Linked DNA regions of Homo sapiens: region 1 is linked to region 2. Evidence: promoter capture Hi-C in 16 types of primary human blood cells and fetal thymus (Javierre and others, 2016). All regions are on one chromosome and are shown on one strand. The core of a region is centred on a gene start or on the middle of the fragment in contact, and the rest is flanking DNA. Distances in the headings are between cores, read along the strand shown.

The links. The method cuts DNA at HindIII sites, captures the fragments that hold promoters and counts their contacts. A CHiCAGO score of 5 or more calls a contact.
Region 1: a fragment that was not itself captured here is called in contact with the fragment with the promoter of EGFLAM-AS2 in region 2 in 4 of 17 cell types (M1 macrophages, M0 macrophages, M2 macrophages and 1 more); the score reaches 7.5 in M1 macrophages.

The regions. Positions count from the first base shown.
Region 1 is chr5:38,917,981-38,922,441 of GRCh38, forward strand. It overlaps OSMR (oncostatin M receptor), which reads left to right. Exons shown (of 18, transcript NM_003999.3): 11 at 860-1,082; 12 at 3,635-3,814. Among named protein-coding and RNA genes, the nearest start is that of OSMR, 74 kb to the left of the region's middle. The HindIII fragment of the contact is 3,828 bases long and covers 1-3,823 here.
Region 2 is chr5:38,401,246-38,405,826 of GRCh38, forward strand. It overlaps EGFLAM-AS2 (EGFLAM antisense RNA 2), which reads right to left and starts at 2,226. Exons shown (of 3, transcript NR_102750.1): 1 at 2,154-2,226; 2 at 579-836. The region is part of intron 6 of EGFLAM (EGF like, fibronectin type III and laminin G domains); the gene reads left to right. The HindIII fragment of the contact is 8,755 bases long and covers 1-4,581 here.

The DNA of each region.
Region 1 (4,461 bases), core at 660-3,159, 520 kb after region 2:
AAAAATTGTAATATAAAATAAATTTTATCCTTCTATCTTGACTAATACACCTTCATGACAACCTGGAAGGCCAGGTTTGTATTCTGAACTCTGTGATGCGTCAGTTTCACACTGAAACATGGTGATCCTGGGAGAGTTGGCTCTGGTCTCAACCTACCCCACTTTTTTTTTCACCTTTAGTTTGGCACACTCCGCAAGAATCTCTGTGCACAGACGTGTGGGCATGCCAGTCTGCATGTCTGGGTTCTGTCCACACCCCAAGCAGATAGCCACTCCAAGCCCACTCTCAGGGCTGGTGGTACACATGCCAGGGGAGGGGAGGCCTGAGGAACAGACCCCAGAAGTGGGCTTGGGACTGTGTGGGCAAGAATTTCTCTGCAAACTGAGGATCTTCCAGAGGAGGGCTCTGGGTATGGAGAGCAGCTAATCCCTGTACGGCTGCATAGGGGTAACATGGCTGGAGGTGGAATGAGGCCAGTACCCAGGCTCCTCCTGCAGGGTCCCAGGGTGGTGCTGTTTGTACTCATTGCTTTTCTGCCCTTGACTACCCCTCACATTCTTTTTTCCACCAGGTTAAAGAGTCTATTCCTTGTGATTCTGACCTGAGCACTCTTCTCAGGGCACATAATGCTCTTGAGGCTCTTATCTCCAAATGATCCTCTTCTCTACTCACCTTCAGTTAGATTTGAATGTCTGATTTCAGAGTTGGTTGAGAGAGTTATTTTCTCTATTAAGCTGTTTGAATTTTCTGGTGTGTGCGTATATAAAGGAGTTGAGGGACAGAAAAGATGAAAAAGGAGTTGTACAAATTCCTTTCAATTAAAACCCATTTAAAAATGTTTATCAATATTTTTTTCAGCCATTATCAAAACTGCATGCCAATGGAAAGATCCTGTTCTATAATGTAGTTGTAGAAAACCTAGACAAACCATCCAGTTCAGAGCTCCATTCCATTCCAGCACCAGCCAACAGCACAAAACTAATCCTTGACAGGTGTTCCTACCAAATCTGCGTCATAGCCAACAACAGTGTGGGTGCTTCTCCTGCTTCTGTAATAGTCATCTCTGCAGACCCCGAAAACAGTGAGTTTGTTTTCATTTTCTTTTGTTTTTATTCTCTAGGAAAATGTTGATGACGTTATTAAGTAGTGATGGATAAATTGAGAAAACAATAACTTAGGAAGACAAAATGTCTAGTCACTAAACAGTCATTTTCTTTTGGGCCAGGTGTGTCAACGTGTTTCAGTGGGACAGTCCCCTCAGTGTGGGGAGAAGGAGACTTCAGCCATGGCTCAGGACATTTCTGTCCAGGGGATTCTTCAACATACATGGGAAATTATCTCAAATTTATTCAAGTAACTGCAACCCTAACAAACAGTCACCACTGAGAGTTGGAGTTACTATTTATGATCTTTGTGGCTTGTGAAATAGGAATTGCATTTACTATTTTGTAAAAAGTGTTGTCAGTCTTTGCACCTGGAAAGAGTCCATGAACATTTCCAGAGATCATCAGAACTGGCATCAACTTTCACCACAGACTCTGCCAACTTTGTAGAATAAAAGATAATAACTGGCTAATCTCTTGCCTATGAAAGAGCAAACAAGGTGGAATGCCCTTACATGCCAAATCAATAGTGATATTAATTTCCTTCTTAGCCATAAAAAGAGTCAACCCCACAGTTACATGCTATGAGATGATACATACATGGGCATACATAATGTAGTTGGCAAGTGGCATCCTGGGATCATTCATGAACCTTGCAATAATATTACCCTTCAGTTCCTGCTATTAAAATTTCCAGACCCTTGTAGGTTCTATAATATGTGTTTATTCAAGTTCAGCTTAAATTTGGGTTGAGTTGGATTAGAGGATGTTGTTGTTTTGTTTTATTTTTATGTTTTTAAAAGAACTACCCAGTATATATCACATGAGGAAAAGAAACTATATTGTGCCATAGAAGAAAAACCAACCTAAGTTGGTTTAGGAGTTGTTTAGTGTAACCTCTGCTTTCTGAAGAACTATATTAGAGAAAGAAGTTATATTCTGACTTCATTAGGATCCGAACAGGAAAAGGGGGCATTTCATTCAGCCTCGGGGAGCTGGTACTGGCCTCTTCTGAGGAAGGGAGAGACCAGTTCAAAGCAACACTGCTGAGAGCAATTATGTATTTTGGGGTCTCCTACCACACCCTCCATCCCCGTGCCCTGCCTTCAGATGCCTAGACCTTCTGGTGAGAGGCTCCAGCTAGCTATCCTTAAGTGTTTCTTGTTTCTACATCACCAGCATGTATAAAGTCACTCATGTACTATGAGAAAACCAGTAAGGTTAAGCCAGTTCACACTAGGGTGTAAATGACTGACAAAAAGATTCCCCTACTCTTTGATCTACCTCCATCTCTCAAAACATATTTTCAATTTAAAGAAACAGCTTTCTAAGAGTTTCAACCCTGGGTTTGGAGTTAAATTTTACTAAGTATCAATAAGTCAAGTGAAAAATGTCGGCCTTAATATGTGAGGGGCATTTGTCTGCTTGATGGAGGAAGGCAGGGAAGCCATGTGGATGGGATCTATAAAGCCCTCATGGGCTTTTAGCTTATACCTAGGGCTACACATTCCTTTGGGTGCCCCTAGCTGGATGATATTTTGATGCCCTATAAAAATGAATCAGTGGTTTTCACACCAGTATTCAGTTGTAATTAGGATTGCCAGGTAAAATACAGGATGCCCAGTTAAATGTGAATTACAGACAAACAATAAACCAGTTCTTAGTGTAAGTCTGTGGAAAGAGGAGAAATTCTCATGCCTCAAGGTTAAGGTATATCCCTGTTGGAACTCAGTAGAACTGGTAGTCCCCTGAGGCCATGTTATCCTTTTTCCAATTGTCAGACATCAGGAAACCTACTTTAACATATAAAATATATTGACATGGCAGTATTAGTCATAAACTGTGTGCATATCTTTATATAACCCAACTTTTTATATACCTGAATATTTTCTTCTTTTTTGTCTTCTACTCAATTCCTACCTGTAACACATCTCAGAAGCAGTATTTAGTTCAGGAGCAACTGATGTTACCGTGGGAGAATTAGCCTGCATTAGTTATTCATTCAACAGGTATTTTTTGAAGCAGATCCAGTACCCAATACCAGATTCTAGATTAAGGATCAAAAAATTTTGTGGTAAAGGGGCAGATAGCAAACATTTTTGCAGGTCATATAGTCTCCATTACATATTTTATTATATGCCTTCTTTGTTGGTTTATTTTTATTTTTACAACCCTTAAAATGTCTTAGAACCATTCTTAGCTCAAGGGTCATATGAAAACAACCCTCAGAGGCTGGAATCATCCTCCTGGTGGTAGTTTGCTGACCCCTGTCCTAGGTGCTGAAGTCTGGTTGGGCTTCAGAAGGTCAACATGATGGGCATCTGAAGGGCAGGTGTGAATATTCGCTGGGAAGTAAGAGACAAGAACTCACCCATGAAAACATCCCCCACCCAAGCACCTGTAACTATTGAAGTGGAGGTCTGTTACCTACTAGATACAGTGCATGTATGTATTTACTTTCTACCTTACACACTTAAAACAATTTACAGTTAATTAAATCTGGAGCATTGCTCTATTTGTTTATATACAGAAGAGGTTGAGGAAGAAAGAATTGCAGGCACAGAGGGTGGATTCTCTCTGTCTTGGAAACCCCAACCTGGAGATGTTATAGGCTATGTTGTGGACTGGTGTGACCATACCCAGGATGTGCTCGGTGATTTCCAGTGGAAGAATGTAGGTCCCAATACCACAAGCACAGTCATTAGCACAGGTAAGAAGAAGCTTCCATATCATCGCATTGCTATATTCACCTTGAAGAAAGTTCAAGTGGGATTTCTGGACTACTTCACAGACTTTGACTGTGCTAAGCTAGTAATTTTGAAACGACAAATCCAGCATGGGTGTTAGGAGTTCAGATGTTACAAGAATATGTTCTAAAACTTGACCTTTAAATCTACTTTTGCAGAGAATATCTGCACATGAGGTGGGAACTGATTTTCATAAACTTGTTTCTTTAAATTAGTGCATAGTCTCGAATGGCAGAAGGACATTATTATAACAGTTGTCCAGAGAGCTTTTACAAAAGCAGAGACTTGCATCCATTTGGAAGATGTTTAGGACATATAGTTGATGAGAATCGATCATCAACTTCAGTTTCAATAGAACATGTAGAACTTGTTCTCTTACCTCCCACATTGGATTTGTAATGTGAAGATTGCTAGTTTAGCAGTCAGAGGAGTGCTGGTTTGTGTGGCTTGAGCTGGAGGGGTGGGTGGCGCCATCTACTGGGCTCAGGGAAAGGTGTGGGAAATGTCCCTGTTCAGAGGGTGATCAAGGTTCTGCCAATTTCAGTGGTATGGTGGGTTGTGGAAGGAGATTGCAGAGGTACAGGTGTAATGGGGAAATGAGGAAGTGGAA
Region 2 (4,581 bases), core at 976-3,475:
GAGATCTCAGCCACCTACACTCTAACCCTTGGCTTCTCTAGGTTCCAGGTTCTTCTGACTGAACTATCTTTAGATACTTGATGCCAAAAAAAATTGTGCAATAGAGTCTTATGGACATTGAACTAGAGTCATATTATCTGATTCTAGAGTTAGAGCTTCCTCTAATGGGATGCATGATCTTGATTTTAAGTCAATTCTTTTCTGTGGCCTCGGTTTCCATGCTTGTGAAATGACAAGATTGGGCTGGATGGTGTTTAGATCTCTTTCCATTCTTACTTCTAGCTTCATTTGGGGGAAAAGGACAGGATTGGTGGCAGTTTTCGGGGTCTTTGGATTGGGAGGCAGAGTCCCACCATGTTGAGCAAGGGCAGGACATAGTTCAGCACTGTGGGAGTGTCTCCTGTCACTCCTCTCAAAGGTGTTGACCTTTGTTGAGTACATGAAGTGTTAGTGACATGGAGGAAGGGAAAGGATATGAAGAAATCTAAAATATGGTTTCTGCCCTCAAAGGATTTACAATCGAGTTGGTAAACACAAGGGCAAGAGTCTAAGGCCAGGAGCCCAGAAGATCTACATACCATCTTACACGTGTGTTGACTTTATCAAGCAATGGGCATTTATGCTGATTGGAGGCATATATCCATGGCTGGGTTGCCCCATCCAGGAGAAGATGAAGGAATGTCCTACAAGTCTTGGTGGCTTCTTACTTTGTGGAGTCACCATTTTTCCCAGAAGAGTCTGTTTTCTTTTTAAAATGTCGCTTGATTTTGGTCTTCTGATGGCACACATTCAGCTCTGTCTCCATAGAATGCATGCCCTCTGGGAGAATAGGTAGGCTGTGTGTAAGGAGATAGGAGTGGGAAAAAGATGACAATGGGAAAAAGCATTAACCAAAATCCTAGGGTAAGAAAATACAAGATGCATTCAGGAGACAACTGGCAGGCCAGTTTGGCTATTATATAGCTTTTAAAGAGTATTTTTTAAAAAACAACAAAAACCTGAAAACATAATTAGGATTCAGATTAAGTAGCATGATGTAGTCAAAAGAGAGACCAAGGATAAAATCTAGCCCTGCCATTCCCCATCTGTCTGCCTTGAGCAAGTTATTTAATCTCTCTGTGTCTATATCTCCACTTGGTAAAATGGAAGTAATAACACCAATTTTATAGTATTTTGTGAGGATTAACTTAAGCGATGTATGAAAAGCTCCTGGCACACTAAGAATGATCAACATATGGTAATTTTCTCAAATTCTAGGATCTTTCTACCTCCACAGTGGCTTCTTCTGCAATAGGCGATTAGGAGAGCAGTCACCAGACAGACCTTGGATTTGAGTTTAGCTCAGCCAGTTATAAAGTCTTCAATTTTAGGTAAATTACTTAACTACTCTTAACTCAGTTTTCTTATGTATAAAATGGATTAGTCATACTTACCTTGTAAGATTATTGAAAAGTTTAGAAATATATCATGTTAAGCACCCAATAGTACCTGATAAGAAGAGGAGATGGAGTAGAATTCAATAAATCATGGTGATGGGGGAAGAAGGAGGAAAAAAGGAGCTGTTTTAATTGAGAACCTTGAATTCTTGACCAAGAAGCCTAGAATTTATGTTGTAGGCAGTGGAGAGTCACTGAAGGTGATTTTTCAGATAGGAAATCATAGGATAAAGATGAAGAGAATCTTAACCTTGTTGAGAATGTGTTAATAAGGTGCACAGGGCAAGGAAGAACAGCCTGGAAGGAGAGAGACCAAACTACTGAAGACAAAAGCCAGCTTGCTTTATGTATGTGCTGTATAATTCTTTTACTACCAAATGGATTTCTTCTTCTGGAATCTAACAATTCTGAATATGTGAGAGAGGCAGAGATAGAAATGAAGAGTGAGGGAAAGGACAGAGGGGAGAAAGAGAAAGAGAGAGAGGGGCCGAGAGAGATAGATACAGTAGTTCCCTCTCCGCAGGGGATGTGTTCCAAGATTCCCAGTGGATACCTGAAACTGCAGATAATACTGAACCCTATATATGCAGCAGAACTAGCATAAATTTCATTTTCCTTCTTCACAGTTTCACAGATAGAAGATTCATTCTTGCCATAGATCTTAGCAACCTCAGCATATGATTTTTTTCTTTCCTTAATTCAGTTGAGAACTTTCACCTTTTAATTTAAAAGATGCACTTCATGGCTTCTCTTTGGCATATCTGAATCCCAGAATCACTGCTCTTGCACTGTGGGGCCATTATGAAGTCAGATAATGGTTACTGGAACATAAGCACTTCGATACCATGACAGTGAATCTGACAACTGAGACGGCTGCAGACCATGGGGCAGGGAGCATATGGAGCACGGATATGCCAGACAGAGGGATGATTCATATCCCAGGCAGGATGGAGCAGGGCAGTGTGCTATTTCATCGTGCTACTCAGAACTTATGAATTGTTTATTTCTGGAATTTCCCATTTAATATTTTTGGACTGTGGTTGATCGAGGGTAAATGAAATTGCAGAAAGCAAAAATACAGATAAGGGGGACTGCTTGCTGTACAAAGATAGAGACAAGAGGAAGGAGCTGTCCTCAAGGGCCTTTTGTGTGAAGACATCTGGCACACAGATACGCTGCATGCAGGTGGCTTGAGAGAACATGCATCCAGGTATAAATCTGGCATCGACAGGTTGAATTTTCAGTTGACAGGTGGACTACTTTAAATAAAACTGGGGAATTGGTGTGGAAGGGATGAGAACACCGCCTCCCCTTTGTTATCCCACCTCCACCAAGAAGTGCCCGAACCCCTGAGAACAGCTCACTCCACCCTGTCTCTGGGTCATCTGCATCATCTGCTGACTGCACTTCTCTCGTCTGGTCTGGGAGGAGATTGATTTCTGGTCAACAGCACGCCCCCTGACAAAAATGACTTTCTGCCATTTCCTTCCACTCCATTTTCAATCTGATTGCTATTCTGTTTGGAGGAGTGCTATGGTCGGAATGTTTATGTCTCCCTCAAATTCATATGTTGAAATCCTAACCCCCAAGGAGGGGCCTTTGGGAGGTACTTAGATCATAAGGGTGGAGTCCTTGTGAATGGGATCAGTGCCCTTATTAAAGAGGCCCAAAGGGGCTGGTTTGCCCTTTCCACCATGTGAAGATGCAGTGAGAAGGCACCATCTGTGCCCTCATCAGATACTGCCAGCCCTTTGATCTGGGACTTCACAGCCTGCAGAACTGTGAAAAATAAATGTTTGTGGTTTACAAGCCATCAGTTTATGGTACTTTTGTTGTAGCAGCCTGGACAGACAATGTAGGAGGGTGAGTTTGTCTTCCTGAGAATGGTGCATGACTTAGCTTATTCTGAAAGCAAAATGTCTTTAAGTTTAGTTTATGTTTTTTATGCTTTTTATGTTATTTTTCCTTTTTCTTTTCCACTAGGCATCCAAACACTGGATGTCTAATAACTAATGAGTGGCAGCATCCTACCAAAGCCAGTTTCTGTTGCCAAAGTTGTTACTGCCCTAAAGGCTGGTGCCTGGCTTTTTCAGTTGAGAGAGGGCAGCAAGTTAATACCTGTGCTGGCCCAAATCCACTGTGAGGACATGCAGGTGCCCTGGAGCCGCTCTTTAAAAGGCTGCCACCTCCTGGTGGAGTGTTTCCCATGTGCAACCTAAATCAGAGCGCTGTGGATCAGTGGATTCTGCGGATGACAGTTGAATAAAAATGCCAACTGAATGTTCCCCAAAAGATGATGCTCTGTATTGACGTCTGAGAGGTTTTCTCACCCACCTTTCAGTTCTGAAAGATTTAGTTGTCCTGCTAAGATGGATGAAATGGATGACCCCCAAGATACCTTATAGGGCCCCCTTTTTTTGGTTGTGGGAGTGTTTACTATAATCTCCCTTTTTTGTTTTAAAGACCTTTTAGTGAAATACTTTGTACTTCAAAAGTATATATATGTATATATACAACATATAAAAAATATGAATATTTACAGGTACCCAGCACTTACCTTAAGAAACAGAATATGATGGAATACTCTCAAAGGCCCCTGTGAATCACACCTCATTCACATCCCTTTTCTATCTTCCCTTGGGTATTTATGTGTTTGTCCTGCTTTTTTAAAGAGTTTAAATTACATATATATGTATCCCTAAGTAATATATTGTTTTGTTTGCTGTTGTCTTTTATATTAATGTCATCAAACTAGATGCATTCTTTTGCAACTTGCATTTTTTTTGTATGAAGTCATGTGAGATTAAGCCATGTTGATATATTAAATGATGATTCATTCCTTTCCCCTACTATATGGTACTCCATTCTATAGATATACTATAAATAATTTAGTCATTCTTTGTTGATGGACATTTGGGATGTTGTTTGTTCTTATAAATAGCATATTTGGAGTATTTTTTACTATTACAAATTCTGATGCTATGAACCTGTTTTGAACACGCCTTTTGGTACACAGGTACAGGAGTTTCTCCAGCTTTTGTAAGTTGGGATGGGATTGCTAGGTATGAACAAACATCTACTTTATGAAATATTTCCAAGTATTTCACAAAGTGACTGGACCAGTTTATACAAGTACCATATGAGT